Regions from separate parts of the Homo sapiens genome. Here region 1 is linked to region 2. Evidence: promoter capture Hi-C in 16 types of primary human blood cells and fetal thymus (Javierre and others, 2016). All regions are on one chromosome and are shown on one strand. The core of a region is centred on a gene start or on the middle of the fragment in contact, and the rest is flanking DNA. Distances in the headings are between cores, read along the strand shown.

Region 1 (4,152 bases), core at 10-2,509, 1.1 Mb before region 2:
TTGCTCCCTTCTAACAAAAGCCACCTTTCATGCAGCTTCTCTCCGGTGGTCTCACCTACTCCTTCCCTCTTGCTTTATACAGATTAAACTCTTTCCTCCTTTGGGTGACAGGCAGTTCAAAGATGTGCCAGCAGTCTCCTGGCCTCCTCTGCCACAGTCCCTCTGCTCCGCTTGCGACCCTCCAACCACCCCAGAGCATTTTCCTCTCCAGATTCGTGTCTACAAACACATCACCGCTCCGTGGCTGCTGGGGTGCAGGACTGGGGTGCTGGCAGCAAACAAAACCAGAATGGCTCTTCTACAGTCCTCATAGGACCTGGCTGCCAGGTGGCTTCTGCCAAGCTGACTGCAAAGGAAGGGAGACCTCCTTACAGTGTTGCTGCCAGCAAGGATCCCCAAAGGCAGCCATTCTTTCTGTGATGGTGCATTTTGGTTTTGTGCTGGTGAACTGTGCTCCCCGGGGTCTTCTCTGTCTGAGCATACAAACCTTTCTCCTTCCAGTTGCTCAGGCCAGGAGCCTTGGAGTCACCTTTAACCCATTTCTTTCTCTCCCACCCACTTGCGTTTCCTCAGCGGATCCTATTGGCTGTTCTTTCAAAATCTCTCTGGCACCCAAAGCCTTCCCCCACCTCCACCTCTACTCCAAGTCATCTTCATCTCTCACCTGGATTCCTGCAATCGCCTCCCATCTGGGCTTTTCAGTGAGGCAGCCAGAGGGATCTTACCGACACAGGCGCCAGGGCAGGCCACCCTCTCCTGACCAGAGTCCCTTTCAGAGTGGAAGCTGATGTCCCCACCATGGCCTTTGAGGCCCTAAGAGTCTGGCCTCCTGTGTTGCCCTTACCTCACCCCCCCCATCCCCCCACTCCCTGCAGCCCCACTGGCCTCCTTCTGCCCCTCTAAGGTGGGGGCCCCAGCCCATAGCAGCACTGCACCTTCTTGCATCTGCTTCAGGTCTTTGCCTAAATGTCGTCGTCTCAGCAGGGCCTCCTTTCACCACCCTGCTCAAAATTGCAGACCAGCACTTGCCTTGACCCATCCAGTGCTTCCATCCACTCCCTTCCTGCATGAGTTTTCTCCATGACATGAGCACCTGACACACCATACATAGTCACATATCATAAGGGTGGTCTGTCTCTCCCAGAGATGCTGTCAGCTCCACAGGGCAGGGGTTGGCTTGTCTTGTTCTACGTTATCCACAATGTCCAGAACAGCACCCAGCACATAAAAGTTTCTCTGTAAATATTTGTTAAATGGTTAATTGTACTGTGGGTCACACGTCTAATACTTGACCTGTGCCCCTTGCAGGGAGAATACCAGGTTTTGCTGGAACTGTACACTGAAAAACGGTCCACCGTGGCCTGTGCCAATGCTACTATCATGTGCTCCTGACTGTGGCCTGTAGCAAAAATCACAGCCAGCTGCATCTCGTGGGACCTCCAAGCTCCTCTGACTGAACCTACTGTGGGAGGAGAAGCAGCTGATGACAGAGAGAGGCTCTACAAAGAAGCGCCCCCAAAGAGTGCAGCTGCTAATTTTAGTCCCAGGACCAGACATCCCCAGACTCCACAGATGTAATGAAGTCCCCGAATGTATCTGTTTCTAAGGAGCCTCTTGGCAGTCCTTAAGCAGTCTTGAGGGTCCATCCTTTTTCTCTAATTGGTCGCCTCCCACCAGACTCACCTGCTTTTCAACTTTTTAGGAGTGCTTCCTCACAGTTACCAAGAATAAAGAAAGCTGGCCACCATTGTTCATTGTGGTTTGTTCAAAGAATCTTACTACAATGCTGTAGTTAAAAAGTCATTTCCTCCAGATACAGTGCCGGATGCTGGTGCAGCATAAGCAGTTCCAAGAAATTCAGGAGGGTGACAGCCTGGCTAAAATTAGAACACTGGGAAAATGTGCCATTGCTTCTCCTGGGCAGGCCCCCACCCTTGGACCATGAGGGCCGAGAAGCTGATGCAACCTCACGAATAGGGACATCATACTCTCGCTTATCCAAACATTCATTTCACCTTCATCCCTCAAAGCATGATTACACTTGACCTCAGCATATGCTGGCGTTCATTACTGCATTCATTAATGAATGCAAGGAATAACTCCTGAACACTTAATGTGTATCAGGTGCTGTGTTCTTAAGTTGTCTTCTACGATGCTCTCCGTAAATGAGCATGTTGCCCATGCTACTTCCAGAGCCATTTCTGCGGCCCCGTCTTCTCTCCTGGGATGCACTGATCGCATGGTGGGCTGCATAGCCCCTTCACCATCCGACGCCCCTGTCCTTCCAGTGTCCCTGCTGGCCCTCTTGCTCCTGCTAAGGGGCTGGAGTAAGGTGGGTGAGTTGACACTATCATTCATAAAAATGCCACTATATTAGAGATTAAAAGAGAAAAAAATTCCATAGTTTAAAAAACAGTAGTTGCTATTAATCACTGTTTATACATCAGTAAACCACCTAGAATAGCAGGTCAAAAATGCCTGTCAAACTTTAAAACCAGCATCTGAGGTTTTCTGGGTTATGAGCAGGCAAAATTGCAGCAGCGTCCTTGCCTAGGCCCATAATGCTCGAGGGAAAAGACGTGCGTGGTCATACTAGGCTCAGGAGCAAACCTCTGAACGTACATGGGGGTGACGGTGTTACGCACAAGAATAGCAAATGATTCCTGCCCCTGGCCATTCCCTCTAGCTTGAGACATTCACCTCTCTCCCTTTTCAGTAACCATCACCACAAGTAGTAAAGTCCCTGGCTAGACTCTGTGTACGCACATGTTCTAACAGTACAAGACAGCTGTCACAGCCTTCCAAAGACACAGGTGGAACTCAGCCAGTCCCTTCCCAATCCCTTTGCCCTCTTCTTTAAATTGACTGTGTGGGTGCGTGTGCGTGAGAGAGAGAGGGAGGGAGAGAGAAAGTTTCAGATGCTATAGGTTTGTGTTAAACTGGAATTTCCATATATGGAGACTATCCTAGTCATAGCTGAATATACAAGTACACAGCCGTTTCACTAAGGACATGATTTGAGAGAAAAAAAAATGTTTCTTTGTCCCAGAATATGTCTTTTCTTAGTGTCCTGTCATGGGCCTTAAATTTCACCATTAGTTTTATTCCAGCAAGTTGAAAACATATTTCAATGTTCAGGAGTCTCCTCTTGGAATACGAACAGCCCTGCTAGGAGAAACGCTAGAGTCTGTCATTATTTAACACTCTGGCAGGATGTAGTAACTAAGATGACTTTGAAAGGGCCAGCCCAGGAAGCAGGGTTGTCAGGGGAGGTGGGTGACCCCAAGCCGAGCCCTCTCAGGCTAGCCATTGTGTGGTTACTGGCTGGGGTGGGGTCAAAGTGCCCAGACAATCTATCAAACTAAATTGACTTCTCCTGTAAAGAGAATTGCTACTGTTTCAAAAATCACTATCAACAACTCCAAAAATGTGTCCTCAATAAACTCTTCTGAAGAAAAAAAAAAAAAAAACAGCTTGGTTCAGGATGATGCAGTGCTGCCACAATTAAGGAATTATTATGAAAATCAGCCAGCTTCAGACATTGGAGTGCCCACCAGCCCTTCTTTATATTTTGAGGGCAATTTCCATCGTTACGTATAGAACGTTTTAAAAAATATTTTTGAGGAACATTCCAGTGCCCAAGGGAAGCTTTGTCAGGCTAGAGTCTAGGCAGAATGCTGATAAAGCCCCTCAGGACAGTGTGATCGCATCTCTTAGAACGTTTTGGCTATGAGGAACAGAGAACTCAATTGAATCTGGCTTATGCATAGGGGACTAGGTTGTCTCCCATGACTACTGAGTCCCAGGGTGGTTTAGGTGTCAGCCAGCGTTTGCTGCTGAGGTTCATTCATCATCGGCTCTTCACCTCCATTTCTCCACAGTTCTTCCACCTCGGGTCTCCTGGAATATTGCCTTTACCCTCAGACAGTCTGTCCCACAATAGCAAATCATTTCAGTAGCTGGAGACCTCACATCCACACTGTCCACAGTACAGAAGGCAAAAGAGACCTTTATCCCAAAACCCTGTTACTCATTCTGATTAGAATGGCTTGGGTCACATGACCTCTCCTTGTAACCACAGCAGACCAATCTGGCTCAACTCTTATATGATAAAGTTGTGAGTTGTTTTTCGGTTGCCGTGGACTCCAGGTT
Region 2 (4,079 bases), core at 2-2,501:
AAGGACTCAGTGGGTAGTTGGAGTCAGTGGTGGTCTCTATTTACCCATGAGAAATAGATTCTTGGAAATAGGATAGGAATGCTTATAAGATTTGGACCAACAGAAAGCCTATGATCTCATAAATTCATGAATCCCACAGTCTATAATCTATTTGACTTCACTCTCAAATGCCTAGGACCATTTGGACTAAGGCTGGCAAGTCAGAAAATTGCAGTTTTTATTTTCAACTCCACACAATTTTCACCAAGTAAAAAACCTTCATGTTTTACGTGAATTTGCTTCTACGATCCATAGATGACTGGATGTTCTCGGGCGGGGTAAAGGCAAATGAATTTGTGTCCTCATTGGCAAATGGTGTTGGTGGTGGTGTTATCTTGTCTAAAATCCACAGGAACCTGTGTTTCAGGACCCTGTCTATTGTCCTGACCATTCAGAATGCATGCCAAGCCCCTGCTCTTCCTGGAGTTATCTTTATCACCTCTCCTCAAGTTTTATCTTGCACCATATAAGTCACATTGTATTTCAATATTAAAATGCAACATTAATAGATAAGCTGGAGAATCAAGACATTTCCAAGAAGACAGGGGACGCCTTTTCTAATATATCGTCTGATTACACCCTCTTTCTTTTGGGTGCTAGCTTAAGAAGCCAAACCAAAGCACAAATGAACAGAGAAGTCAACACATCCGACCCCAAACCCTCAGGACGCTGGCTTGGGTTACATGTGGCCCTCTCTGTGGTCAGTTTGTGAGTAGCCTCCCCGGAGGGTGTGTCCCAACTTCCAGCAGCTGCCGTGGAAAGCCACGTGTCCGCTAAACGCCTACATTACATCAATAAGAGAAACTAAGGAAGGGATGGAAAAGCTATCATTTTTCTTTTCTTCCTCAGTTCTGGCAGTATAGTGATTTAATCGCTGTTATTATTTTTATTTAGTTAAAGCATCAACTTAGGCCTTTTAAATGATGGTAAAAGAGAAAGCTTCAGATCGGGGTATTGGTCAGATCATTCTTACTAGCGATGACCTCTTCGCCTTTGGCACCTCGCGGCTCTTCGCATGCCTCCAAGAATTCCCGGGTCTTGAAACCTACGCGCGGCGGAGGCGACGCCTCTCGGGAGAGGGAGGGTGAAAGAAGGGGCGGGGCTATTTAAATAGCCCGCGAGCTTCGCGTCCCCATTGGCTGCCAGCCTGTCGGTTACCGCGGGGCGGGGAGTCCCGGGGCTGGAGTGAGGTACCTGAGCCGGGCGCGCAGCAGAAAGCCCACGTTGGCCGCTGCGGGGAGCGCGGCGTGGAGAGGCGGGAGACCGAATTCCGGCGCCGCCGCCGCGGCCGCTGCTCGGTGCACTAGCCCCCTTCCTTCCCATCCTTTCTGCGAGCGGGTTTGCTGGGCAGCCGGGCGACCGCCGAACGGAAAGCAAGATCCTCGCCGCCTCCGCTTGAGGAGGCGTGCGGCGCGCGGAGATTTTGAGTGGGAGCGACGGTGCCCGAGAGCTCAGGGGCGCGGAGTTCGTGAGCGAGAAGGAAGTTAAACCTCGCGGAATAGACTGGCATTTCGGGACGCCTTGTCGCCGCAGCCTGGGCCCTGCAACGGGGTAAACTTCATGGTGGCCCTGCGATCTGGGGAGGGGCGTGCGCCACGGTGATGCCGGGCATCTCCCGCAGCTCGTGAGCGGCCCCGCTCCCCGCTGCCCCGGGTCCCACTCAGTCGCCAGGGAGAGCGCGGGGCAGCGCACGTGTGCGGCCAGCGAGGCCCAGAGTGACCGCGCCGCGACTCGCAGGAGCCAGGGCGCAGGCTGCAGTGCAGCCCGGACTCAGACGCACCTGGCCTGGACCGCGCGCCTCTAGAGACCTGCGCGAGGCTGTGAGGCTCCCCTTCCTCCCCTCCAAGCGGTTCTCCTGGTGATCGCCCCTTCGCCACCTCTCTAGCCTGGGCAACTGGGGGCGCCCCGGACGACCATGAGAGATAAGGACTGAGGGCCAGGAAGGGGAAGCGAGCCCGCCGAGAGGTGGCGGGGACTGCTCACGCCAAGGGCCACAGCGGCCGCGCTCCGGCCTCGCTCCGCCGCTCCACGCCTCGCGGGATCCGCGGGGGCAGCCCGGCCGGGCGGGGATGCCGGGGCTGGGGCGGAGGGCGCAGTGGCTGTGCTGGTGGTGGGGGCTGCTGTGCAGCTGCTGCGGGCCCCCGCCGCTGCGGCCGCCCTTGCCCGCTGCCGCGGCCGCCGCCGCCGGGGGGCAGCTGCTGGGGGACGGCGGGAGCCCCGGCCGCACGGAGCAGCCGCCGCCGTCGCCGCAGTCCTCCTCGGGCTTCCTGTACCGGCGGCTCAAGACGCAGGAGAAGCGGGAGATGCAGAAGGAGATCTTGTCGGTGCTGGGGCTCCCGCACCGGCCCCGGCCCCTGCACGGCCTCCAACAGCCGCAGCCCCCGGCGCTCCGGCAGCAGGAGGAGCAGCAGCAGCAGCAGCAGCTGCCTCGCGGAGAGCCCCCTCCCGGGCGACTGAAGTCCGCGCCCCTCTTCATGCTGGATCTGTACAACGCCCTGTCCGCCGACAACGACGAGGACGGGGCGTCGGAGGGGGAGAGGCAGCAGTCCTGGCCCCACGAAGCAGCCAGCTCGTCCCAGCGTCGGCAGCCGCCCCCGGGCGCCGCGCACCCGCTCAACCGCAAGAGCCTTCTGGCCCCCGGATCTGGCAGCGGCGGCGCGTCCCCACTGACCAGCGCGCAGGACAGCGCCTTCCTCAACGACGCGGACATGGTCATGAGCTTTGTGAACCTGGGTAAGGATTTGGGGTAACGTAATGACGAGAACATTTCCCCCTTTTCAGTGTCCCGGGCCCAGGGGATGGAGTGAGGGGGTGGAGGAGCTCCCGGCGCGCGGGTCCCGCCTGGTGCGCCAGAGAACGCGGGGACAGGCAGGCTGTGCTCCCGCCACCTGCGCGGCGGTGGGCGGCACATGCGCTCCCCCGCGCCGCGGGCAGGGCTGCGCGCCGAGGCCCCCAGAGGCGGCTGGCCGGCCGGGCCGCGGGGCTCCGGGAGCGCTGTCCCCAGCGGGCGTGTATTTGCGGACTCCCTGAGCACGTTCCGCGCTTTTTTTCACTTCTGCCCAGCTCTGGCCAGGTTAACTCAACTGCAGCAGGAGAGTCCAGCCCGAGTGTGGCCATCCTGGGAAGAGGGCTCTTCAGTACGATTTTCCCCTCTAAACTGCCGCCTTTTGCCCCCTAACTTGGAGTGCAGTTTTCCCACCGAGACTTTTAGGGAATCCGACAGCGGCTGGGAACTTTGAAAACTTGGCATGAGTATGTTTAGAGGTATCCACGGCACTAGGGGAGGTTGCAGAGGGAAGTCCCAAAAGGACCGCGGAAGGCGCTCGGATCCCGGCCGGGCGGGGCTCGCTTCTGTTTGGGGCGGGATGAAAGCTCAACTGGGGTAATCCATCCTGTGCCCCGGCTCACATGCCCTTGGCCATTGTCCCCAAAGGCTGAACCTTTGATCAATGCAGCCCAAGCTGCACGGGCAGAGAAAGGGTGCGGGGTAGGGGCCGGGGTTGGGCGCTGAGCTCCTCTGAACCGGTTGCCAGGCAACAGAATGGAAATTCACGGGCGGCTAAATGGAGCTCCGCCACAAATGTTCTGTGGCAAACCCGGACCCAGTCACATCGCCCTTTCTCCCCCCTCCCACCCCACTGAGTTTTCTCATCTGTAAATGAGAAGGGTGCAGAGAAGACTCTTTTCTTCGGAGTCAGTGCCTCCGGTTTGCACTGCTTTTCATTCATAAGCTGACTTAGTTTAGCGCAGACATAGGATGGAGGGACGCGCTGTCAGCGGACAGATCATGGGTGCACTGGCTACGCCCGGGATGGTTGCAGCTGCGCGGCGGGGTGGGGCTTCACGGGCCTCCTTCCCATGTGAGACGGTGGTTGTGCCCAGGCCCTGAAGTGGGTGAGCAGACACTCGCCAAAGGAGCACACGGGTCTCCCAGCCACGTCAAAGACGCTCATCTTTTAACGGCATTACTTACTGGAATGATTCCCGCGTAGACTATCTGGGTGATTTCTTTACCAGCCTATCTATGATTCCCAACTCCA

The links. Contacts are between HindIII fragments. The CHiCAGO score rates a contact against its expected background, and 5 or more counts as called.
Region 1: a fragment that was not itself captured here is called in contact with the fragment with the promoter of BMP6 in region 2 in 1 of 17 cell types (neutrophils); the score reaches 8.3 in neutrophils.

What each region holds. Positions count from the first base shown.
Region 1 is chr6:6,653,236-6,657,387 of GRCh38, forward strand. It overlaps LY86 (lymphocyte antigen 86), which reads left to right. Exons shown (of 5, transcript NM_004271.4): 5 at 1,309-1,747. The coding sequence ends at 1,392. Among named protein-coding and RNA genes, the nearest start is that of LY86-AS1, 32 kb to the left of the region's middle. RefSeq lists a silencer at 622-812. The HindIII fragment of the contact is 4,773 bases long and covers 1-3,646 here.
Region 2 is chr6:7,724,848-7,728,926 of GRCh38, forward strand. It overlaps BMP6 (bone morphogenetic protein 6), which reads left to right and starts at 1,252. Exons shown (of 7, transcript NM_001718.6): 1 at 1,252-2,772. The coding sequence starts at 2,109. The HindIII fragment of the contact is 3,909 bases long and covers 977-4,079 here.